3 separate regions of the Homo sapiens genome follow, and all the other regions are linked to region 1. Evidence: promoter capture Hi-C in human tissues and cell types (Jung and others, 2019). All regions are on one chromosome and are shown on one strand. Each heading gives the region's core, a stretch centred on a gene start or on the middle of the fragment in contact. The rest is flanking DNA. Distances are from core to core; before and after follow the strand shown.

The links. Contacts are between HindIII fragments. The study calls those that stand out against the background at their distance.
Region 2: a fragment that was not itself captured here is called in contact with the fragment with the promoter of RHBDF2 in region 1 in 3 of the 25 tissues and cell types used here (dorsolateral prefrontal cortex, mesenchymal stem cells and neural progenitor cells).
Region 3: a contact is called between a fragment that was not itself captured here and the fragment with the promoter of RHBDF2 in region 1, in 6 of the 25 tissues and cell types used here (IMR-90 fibroblasts, adrenal gland, dorsolateral prefrontal cortex and 3 more).

What each region holds. Positions count from the first base shown.
Region 1 is chr17:76,499,987-76,503,219 of GRCh38, forward strand. It overlaps RHBDF2 (rhomboid 5 homolog 2), which reads right to left and starts at 1,437. Exons shown (of 19, transcript NM_001005498.4): 1 at 1,367-1,437. RefSeq lists enhancers at 695-1,364, 1,715-1,854 and a silencer at 1,025-1,664. The HindIII fragment of the contact is 32,589 bases long and covers 1-3,233 here.
Region 2 is chr17:76,600,367-76,603,599 of GRCh38, forward strand. No RefSeq gene overlaps it. Among named protein-coding and RNA genes, the nearest start is that of ST6GALNAC2, 16 kb to the left of the region's middle. RefSeq lists a silencer at 721-1,015 and enhancers at 866-2,065, 1,392-1,939, 1,940-2,486. The HindIII fragment of the contact is 3,370 bases long and covers 47-3,233 here.
Region 3 is chr17:76,427,243-76,430,475 of GRCh38, forward strand. The region is part of intron 1 of UBE2O (ubiquitin conjugating enzyme E2 O); the gene reads right to left. It also overlaps the pseudogene RPL7P49. Among named protein-coding and RNA genes, the nearest start is that of UBE2O, 24 kb to the right of the region's middle. The HindIII fragment of the contact is 3,437 bases long and covers 1-3,233 here.

The DNA of each region.
Region 1 (3,233 bases), core at 187-2,686:
CACCAAAGGAAGACTCTTGTGAGGGGAATAAGTGCCCTCACACTGCCTTACCCCTCATCTCATTCAGGTTTATTCCAAGTTCCTCCCCTAACCACTCTGGAAAACTGAGGTAGTTTCCCCAGTGAGGGAGCATCATTGAGAAGGAACCTGATGGACCAGCTGCTGCGCAGGGTTTCTCAGCCTCAGCACAGCCCAACACCTTGGGCTGGATAATTCCTCGTTATGTGGGCTGTTCCGTGCCCTGAAGATGTCTGGTAGCGTCCCTGGCCTCTACCCACTACCTGCCAGTAACAACAACACTCACTTCCCCTCCCAAGTGTGTGACACCCAAAATGACTCCAACATTGCCAAATATCCCATGGCAGGCAAAGTCGCCCCTGGTTGAGAACCACAGCTCTAAAACACGCCTCCCTTTCCACTGCCTGCCCTACGGACAGTGAGGGTCGAATAAGGCAGATGCTGGTCTCATTATATTACCAGCAAATGGCACACACTGGGGGCCTGATGCCAGCCGCCCAGGCAACAGCAGCCTCTCCCCAAGTGGGGTCAGCTCCCCACCGCCTTCTGCTCCTCAGACACACCCGCTGCCACCCTCTCAGTAGCTCCAACCCTAGAGCCCCCTCCGTTAATCTTTCATGGAATGGGGCAGGGCCAAAACCTAGGCTTCCTTTGCGCCCTGGCGTGGGAGTGGGGCGGGGTCTGTACCCTAGGGAACTTATCCGTCTCTATCCCAATGCCCTGGGGGAACATCCGAGGGGCCAAACAGGTAAAAGGCAAGCCCAGGGCCAACCTTCCCCAGCCCCTCCATCCAGAAGTCAGGACTCCTGGGTCCAATTTCTGAGCTCCGGTCCAGCCCTGCTGTGTGAGTCCCTCATCCCCACCCCCGCACCTGTTTCCACCTTGGCTGGCTCAACCAACAAACTTCGGCCCCGGTCCGCCCGGTGCTCACCCGGGAGAAAGTGGAGGGGAGAGAAGGGTCTGAACTGCAGGCACTTCTGGGACGCAGGCGGGACTGCCCTGCGCAGTCTCCTCTCTTCCTCCGGAGGTTTAAATCTCTGCCCAATCGTCTTGCCCCTACATCTGGCGCCCCGTCGCCCAGGGACCCCTTAGGCGTCCTGTCCGAGCCGAGCCCTAGGGGCCAGCAGACCGGGTCCAGCGGCCCCGCCGGCGCCGTCTGAGCCAGCCCGGGCCTCCAGCCGAGCCCACGTGGGACCCAGGCGCTCCGCAGGGCGGGCACCGGGCACTGGGCACCCTTCCTGGCCGCGCACCACCGCTCCAGGGCAGGCTCGGGCACAACCTCGGGACCCTTCCGGCGCCTGCGGCTGGGCGGCCGTGAGTCCTGCCCCGCTCGTCGCCCCGCGCTCACCTCCCTGCGGCCCCAAGTCCCCGGGACGCAACTCCGTGCGGCGCCTGCGAGCGGCTGGGCGGTGGCTCCTCGGGGGCGGGGCGGCGGCGCTCCGCCTCTTCCCTACCTGCGCGCGGGCGGCCGGGAGGCGGGGCTGGGCTCCAGGGGGCGTGGCCGGGCTCATGGGGGCGGGGCCTGGACGCAGTCTTTGCTCAGTCGGCTTCCTGGGTTCCTGCCTCCGCCCTCCACCCAGCTGGGTCCCCGCCTGGGCAGAGCCCTGTTTTCGCCTGAGCTGGTCTCTTCAGGGCGCCGTCCTTTCCCTCTTGGCGTCCTCACTCCACCCCAGACCAAACACGTCATCTAGGTCTTGATTGCCGTCTTCAAGTCGCCCCTCCCCATCAAGAAAAAGCACCCAATCTCCCATCCCCTTCTTCCAGCGCCCTCATCCTCAGGCCAAGTGGGCCTGTTCCCTTGACCCTTTTAGTCTGTAGTCACACTCTCTCCGGGAAGCTGGGCCTGAACACCTCCTCTCCCTCCTGGACCCTGAGGCCTCTCTCCTAGCTCTGCTGTGCCCTTGGGTTGGGAACAGGCACTCCGTGGAGGTCCTATCTGCATTTGCCCTGCAGCTAAGGCCAACATTTGTGACTCCTGCCAACCCCCTACACACCCCGTAGAAGCATTGACAGAACCCACCCAGCTCTGGCCCTTCCAGCTGCCATGCGGGCCAGAGCCAGACTGGAGATTGGGGACGCTGGCGACACCTGGCCCCTTGGCTTGGGTCTGTCTGCCCAGGTGGTTCCTTCTCTCTTCCCTGGACTCCAAGGGCCTGCCTCTTGGGACTAGACAAACAAAACCTTGGCCAGGGCAGCTAGGACCGAACTCCAAGGTCTGGATGCCCCGTTCTCAGCCCCAGCGCTTATCATCTCGCCGTCCCTCTCCAGGAGGCCTGGCTAGGCCAGGAGGAGCAGAGTTTGAAGAGACTCAGGCTTGGAGGGGTGGGGGTGGGGTTGTCAGGGCCAAGGCAAAACCTCTGGCCCTTAGAGAGCTCCTGAGCCACCCTGCCCCCCAACCCAAGGACTCTGGTGTTTATTGCTGACCTGGGTGGAGGTGGGGAGCACCTGGCTGCTGGAGATTATCCTGAGAGATGCATCTCTCCTCCCCAGCTCTGGGGCCATGAGGAGGGCACAGGCTGGAAGGAGGGGGAGTGGGCCAAAGCTGGGGTGGGGGTTGCTCCTAGTAACAAATGTAAGGGACCATTTATTGTGCAACCAGCACATCCTGGGGTTATGTGCAGAGAGGAACAAAACCAGGGCCTGCCCACGAAGTGCCAGCATTCTACAGGGAGACGTTGGAACTCAATACTGTAACAGGAAGGGTGAGAGCAGCTAGCCATTCCAAAGTGCTTTAGTCTGTATAATCCGCAGTACAGGTCTATGAAGTGGGTACCATTATGATCATCCCCATTTTAGGGATGAGAAAACTGAGGCAGAGGGAGATGTGAGGGGAGCAGCTGGGGTTTAAACTCGGTCATGATCTGACTTTAGACTCTAACAAACACTGCTGCAAATGCCTGAGCTGGGTTCTCTCTCCTGGAGCTCTACTGGAAGCTCTGCAGGAGTCCCCAGGAGGGGAGGGATTCATGGTGGTGCTTAAGCTGGTGTCAGGGATTTGTCCCATGCAAACATGGCGTGCTGCCCGGCCACATAGGTGCAGGGAGGCTGATTACAGCCTTGGCTGCAGCAACACGCACCTGTGAGGCCAGAGAGGGAAGAATGTTAAATAGGCCAGGGGTATAACTTGTGATAATGTCACACAGCTGTTAAAAGCAACGAGGCAGCTATCCATGTACTGAGAAAGGAATTATCTCCAACTTATAGTAAGTTAAAAA
Region 2 (3,233 bases), core at 482-2,981, 100 kb after region 1:
CGTGCAGACCCTGTTTCTTCCTGCCCTCGCGCTCAGCTAAGGGTAGACACCATATCGTGCATCACCTTGGGTGTGCTATTTGCCTTGAGTTTTTTTTTAGGTGGGGCTGGGGGGACAGGGTCTTACTCTGTCACCCAGCTTGGAGTACAGTGGCGCCGTGATCATGGCTCACTGCAGTCTTGAACTCCTGGGCTCAAGCTATCCTTCCACCTCAGCCTCCTGAGTAGCTAGGACTATAGATGCGCACCACCACACCTGGCTAATTTTTGTACTTTTAGTAGAGATGGGGTTTTGCCATGTTGCCCAGACTGGTCTTGAACTCCTGAGCTCAAGGAATCCGTTTGCCTTGGCCTCCCAAAATACTAGGATACAGGCATAAGCCACCACACCCAACCTGCCTTGAGATTCTGAGGAAGCTGGTGTGTGCGTGAGTGTGTGTGTGTGAGTGTGTGTGTGTGTTTGTGTATGTGAAGGGGGTCGGGGTCAGGCCTCTAGTTCCCTGTTCCCCAGTGCCAACACAGAACTATTCTTTGTGCCCACCCAGTATGTGATAATCCAGAAAATGCCACATTTTTGTATAAACCGATTTGCAAACAATTTTGTAGATAAGTATAAATCCTCAAGCTTGGTACAGTGTACTTTTCTCCTTCTGTGAACACAATGTTTGACTTTAAGCTTTCCTTTAAATACCAGTCAAAGCAGGGAATAGTGACTTATGCCTGTAATCCCAGTACTTTGGGAGGCCGAGGTGGGCCGATCGCTTGAGCCCAAGAGTTCGAGACAAGCCTAGGCGACATCGTGAGACCCTGTCTCTACCAAAAAGAGAGAAAAAAAGTTAACTGGGTGTGGTGGCACATATGCAGGAAGCTAAGGTGGGAGGATCGTTTGAGCCTGGGAGTTCAAGGCTGCAGAGAGCTGCAATAGCGCCACTGCACTCCAGCCTGGGTGATGGGGTGAGACCCTCTCTCAAAAATAAATACATACAGTCAACAGGACATGTGAGGACTGCCATGGAGACCAGCATGAATGCAACACTATCCTCTGAGTACACTTTAGACTTTCCATTACTATCACCAGAAAGGGGTCCCAATCCAGACCCCAAGAGAGGGTTCTGGGATCTCATGCAATAAAGAATTTAGGGTGAGTCCAGAGTAAAGTGAAAGCAAGTTTGTTAGAGAAGTAAAGAAACAAAAGAATAGCTATTCCATAGGCAGAGCAGCCCCAAGAGCTGCTGGGTGGCTATTTTTTTTATTTATTTTTATTTTTAGTAGAGATGGGGTTTCATGGTGTTAGCCTGGATGGTCTCAATCTCCTGACCTTGTGATCCACCCGCCTCCGCCTCCCAGTGGGTGGCTATTTTTATGGTTATCTCTTGATCATATGCTAAACGAGGAGTGGATTATTATGTTTTCCAGGAAACGGGTGGGGATTTTTTGGAAATGAGGTTTCCTCCCCCTTTTAGACCATATAAGGTAACTTCTGAACGTTGCCATGGCATTTCTAAGCTTTCATGGTGCCGGTGGGAGTGACTTTAGCATGCTAATGCATTATAATTAGCATATAATGGGCAGTGAGGACTATTAGAGGTTACATTTGTTGCCATCTTGGTTTTGGCTGGCTTCTTTACTGCATCCTGTTTTATCAGCAGGGTCTTTGTGACCTGTATCTTGCGAGCTCCTATCTCACCCTATGACTAAGAATGTCTAACCCCCTAGGAATGCAGTACAGCAGGTCTCAACCTCATTTTACCCAGTCCCTATTCAAGATGGAGTCACTCTGGTTGAAGTGCCTGTAACATTACTAACACAAATATCTGTCCTGCTTCTGAATCTCTCTTGATCTCTCCAATGCACCCTCGACCCAGGAGCAACTTTTGGACCCTTTGCCTACTCCTCACTGCAAAAAAGAACAAGATCAAAAACTGCTGATCCTAGGCTGGGCATGGTGGCTCACACCTGTAATCCCAGCATTTTGGGAGGCCAAGGCAGGCGGACCGCCTGAGGTCGAGAGTTTGAGACCAGCCTGGCCAACATGGCGAAATCCCGTCTCTACTAAAAATACAAAAATTAGCCAGGTGTGGTGGCAGGCACCTGTAATCCCAGCTACTCGGGAGGCTGAGGCAGGAGAATCACTTGTACCTGGGAGGCAGAGGTTGCAGTGAGCCCAGATCGTGCCATTACATTCCAGCCTTGGCGAGAGAACAAGACTTTGTCTCAAAAAAAAAACAAAAAACCCAAAAAAACTGCTGACCCAGAAGCAGAGAATTGCGAGACGTGTTAGATCTGTACTTTAACCTTTTAAATCCTCTAAAACAGCTGAATTAGTTGTCTAAGTCCCAGGCATGTGAGAAAAGAGGAAAAATAATGTTAAATCCGTGAGTAACTGTGTGAGCCCTTGCACCAGTGACTCTGAAAGGCGGAAGAGAAAGAGAGACTGGGGTTGTTGAAAGATAAATTATGCTGCAACGTTTAATGGATAAGCCATGGTTTACCCACCGGTAAAACACTCAATTCCTGGCCCAGGCTTTGAATCATTGCAAGGGCACTCCTTGGGAAGAGGACATAGTTGGAGGCTGTTAGTCTGTTTTTACATTGCTATAAATACCTGACAGTGGATAATTTATAAAGAAAAGAGGTTTAATTGGCTCATTGTTCTGCAGGCTGTACAGGAAGCATGGTGCCCACATCTGCTTGGCTTCTGGTGAGGCCTCAGGGAGCTCTTATTCATGGCGGAAGGTGAAGTGGGAGCAGGCATGTCACTTGGAGAGAGAGCAATAGAGAGAAGGGAGAGGTCCCAGACTCTTAAACAACCAGACCTTGCATGAACTAACTGAGCAAAACTCACTTATCACCAAGGGGATGTTGCTGAGCCATTCATGAAGGATCTACCCCATGATCGAATCACCCCCCATCAGGCCCCACATCTAACATTAGGAATCATGTTTCAACATGAGGTTTGGAGGGGACACACATCCAAACCATATCAGAGGCCGTAGAGTTTGGAAGCCTGAACTTGCACTTGGGGTTTTTGGTCTAAGCTGGAAGGAGTCAAGAAAAAGGATGGGGCTGGGCGCGGTGACTCACACCTGTAATCCCAGCACTTTGGGAGGCTGAGGTGGGCAGATCACTTGAGGTCAGGAGTTCAAGACCAGCCTGGTTAAGATGGTGGAACTCCGTCTCTACTAAAAATACAAAAATTAGCCAGGCGTGGTGGTGCACACCTGTGATCCCAGC
Region 3 (3,233 bases), core at 329-2,828, 73 kb before region 1:
TTCCCATAGTTCTCTCTTGAGAATTTATGCTATTTGCTGTTTAACATTTCCACTGGGGTTTTAACTCAATGTTTTCACTCTAGAGGCTTTATTTGATTCTTTAAAAAATAATCCCTTTTAAGATGTATTCTGTCTTATTCTTTCCTTTGACATCTATTTCTTCTTTTAGCCCTTCAATCACTTTAGACATTTCTATTATAATCTCTTCTATTATTTGAATTCTCATGTTGAGAATCTTGTGTTTGTTGTGATCGCTGACTCATGTTCTAATTTCTACATGCTTGGTAATTTCCTAGAACAAGCTCATCATCTGTGGGCATCCTAGGATTCCAAAAGGCCTGTACTGTGCAAGGGTCACTCTAGAAAAGTTCTGCCTTTGTTCTGCAAGCAAGAAGCTTCAGGGGTATCGCCAGTCTGCTGGCTGGTCTGGTGCCAGCTCGGGCATTCCTGCAACATGTAGATGTTATAAACACAGACTTAGAACTTGGATGTTTTCCACTGTTCACAGAAGACTTCCTCCAACACAATCCAGAGTGTGGGGCAATGATCAGCTCCCTTGACATTTCTCTGATCCCATGGGGGAAATTTTCTTGCATCCCTTTTACCTGGGAATGGCTCTTTTGAGGGGATTTCTGTTTCAACTCCATGCTTCACGTGTTCATGCAAATCCAAACCTCTATTATTGTTAGGGTCGATTTCAGGGTCCAATGAACCCACCTTGCCCCTCCCCAGAGCTGCCTACTCTGCTCTGGCTTTATATTCCTGCTTTGCTTTCGGTTCTCTGTTTTTCTTTCTTATTCTGTTGTTATAGCTTATATAGCATTTTAAGTGATTGTAATGGGAGCGGTTCTAACTTTAGCTCAAGCTACCATGTCACTGAAACAGGAAATCCACCCCATTGTCTTCTGGCTTCCAATGAGGTTGAAAAATCCAATCCATCTTCATTCCCAGTCTTTTGTATGTGACCCGTTTTTGCTCTTCGGAAGCTTTATGCCCAGTGCTCTGGAATCACACAATGTGCCACAGGACATTTTCCATTTACCATTTTTGAAACTTATGACTGTCCATTCTGAAATAATTCTTGTTTCTCTGATACATTATGGTCCTTAATTTTCCCTTTCTCTCTTTATAGACTTCCTAGATGTCAGACGTTTTTAATCTGTTTCCTGGGAGCCTTCGTCAACTTCAAAGAAAAAGTAATGGTTTTAATTTCCGAGAACTCTTTCTTGTTCTGATTTTTATAGTAACTTTTTATTTCATGGATAAAATATTGGCTCTTCTTTCTGAGTATATTTGCCATGTGCTTTAAGGCTTTCTCCTACCTGAATCAGCTCTGATTCCTCGGAGATACATTTTTCTCTTTGCTTTCTCTGGCCTCTACCTTCCATACTGGAAGCTTTCTGAACATATCCAGTTATTCTTGGCATCCATTCCTATTTAAAAGTGAGGCAATAAGAGATCTTTGTGGTGATGGAAGAGTTGTGTATCTTGACTGCTGTTACATGTGGTTACATGAATCCACAGATGTGATAAAGGGTGTGAAACTGTATGCACATATTGTGTACCCATGTCAATTCCCTGATTTTCATATTGTCTGTGATTATATAAGACATGACCATCAAGGGAAACTGCATGAAGGGTAGAGGGGACCCCTCTACTATTTTTTTTTTTTTTTTTGAGATGGAGTCTTGCTCTGTCGCCCAGGCTGGAGTGCAGTGGCATGATCTTGGTTCACTGCAACCTCTGCCTCCTGGGTTCAAGCAATTCTCCTGCCTCAGCCTCCCGAGTAGCTGGGATTACGGGCGCATGCCACCATGCCCGGCTAATTTTTGTATTTTTAGTAGAGACGGGGTTTAACCATGTTGGCCAGGCTGGTCTCGAACTCCTGACCTCGTGATCTGCCCGCCTCGGCCTCCCAAAGTGCTGGGATTACAGGCATGAGCCACCGCGTCCAGCCAGCCCTCTACTATGTTTGCAACTTCCTATGCATCTATAATTATTTCAAAATAAAAAGTTGGGCTGGGGATGGTGGCTCATGCCTGTGATCCCAGCACTTTGTGAGGCTGAGGTGGGCAGATCACTTGAGCTCAGGAGTTTGAAACCTGCCTAGGCAACATGGCAAAACCCCATCTTGACAAAAAACACACAAATTAGCCAGGAGTGGTGGCGCATGGCTGTAATCCCAGCTACTTGGGAGGCTGAGGTGGGAGAAGTGCTTCAGCCTGGGAGGCAGAGGTTGCAGTGAGCCAAGATTACACCACTGTACTCCAGCCTGGGTGACAGAGTGAGACTCTGTCTCAAAAAAAAAAAAAAAAAAAAAAAGTTAAAAAAGTTGAGGTGATAAAAAGATGATAGAAACCCTGTGAACATAAGCAAGGCTCTGGACAGGTGAGGACCACATTAGATGGAGTAGAAAGCTGGCCACTGCTGTGAGGAGCCACTACATACTGGCAATGGCAGGTCTTGTTGCTGACATGCTCATTTTTTCCAGACTGGAATCCAATGCCATGCCTCATGCCTGGCCTCAGCACTCCAGGAGCAGGCAGGGGCATGGCTGGGATTTGCTCTTTTAGTGTGCAGACGTTCATGAATCCCTCTTTCAGTCCAGCGTTACCCTGCCCCTTGCTCTGCCCAAGGTACCTCAATCTGGTGCATAAGCCTCTGCTCTCTCACTCGCCAGCAAAGGGGATTGAGTATTTTCTGGTTTGCAGAATTCAAAGAGATGACTTGGGAAGTTTCATCCCTCCCTATACAGACTGTCAACTAATCATAATCCCTCTGCTTTTAGGCCCAAACCTTATTCCCACCTTGAGTGCCACCAATTGCCTCCAATTCCTGATGCTTTCTAAAGTGCTTTTCCTTGGTGTTTTTCCGCAGGTACCAACATTTCAGCCTCTGCTCTGCTCAGTCTTCTGTTTGCCTTCCACCTTCTAGAAATTGGAGATCTTTTGTTATTGTTTTCTCTCCCATTCTGTGTCCTTGTGGGTTTATACATCTAAAAACAATTATTTTGCTGTTATTTTAGCAGAGTTTCTAGGGGAAGTAGATTTAAATGAATATGTTCAATCTACCATGTTTACCTAAAGTATGCTAACCGAAGATTTTTTTTTTCAATTTGAGAGCAGGTACTATTTATTAACTGACCAGATTAGAAAAATAATCACGGTAGACACCGCAGTTCATTCTTCTAAGAAGCCTGTGGATCTGGCCCTCCCTGTTGGCAGCAGCTCCAT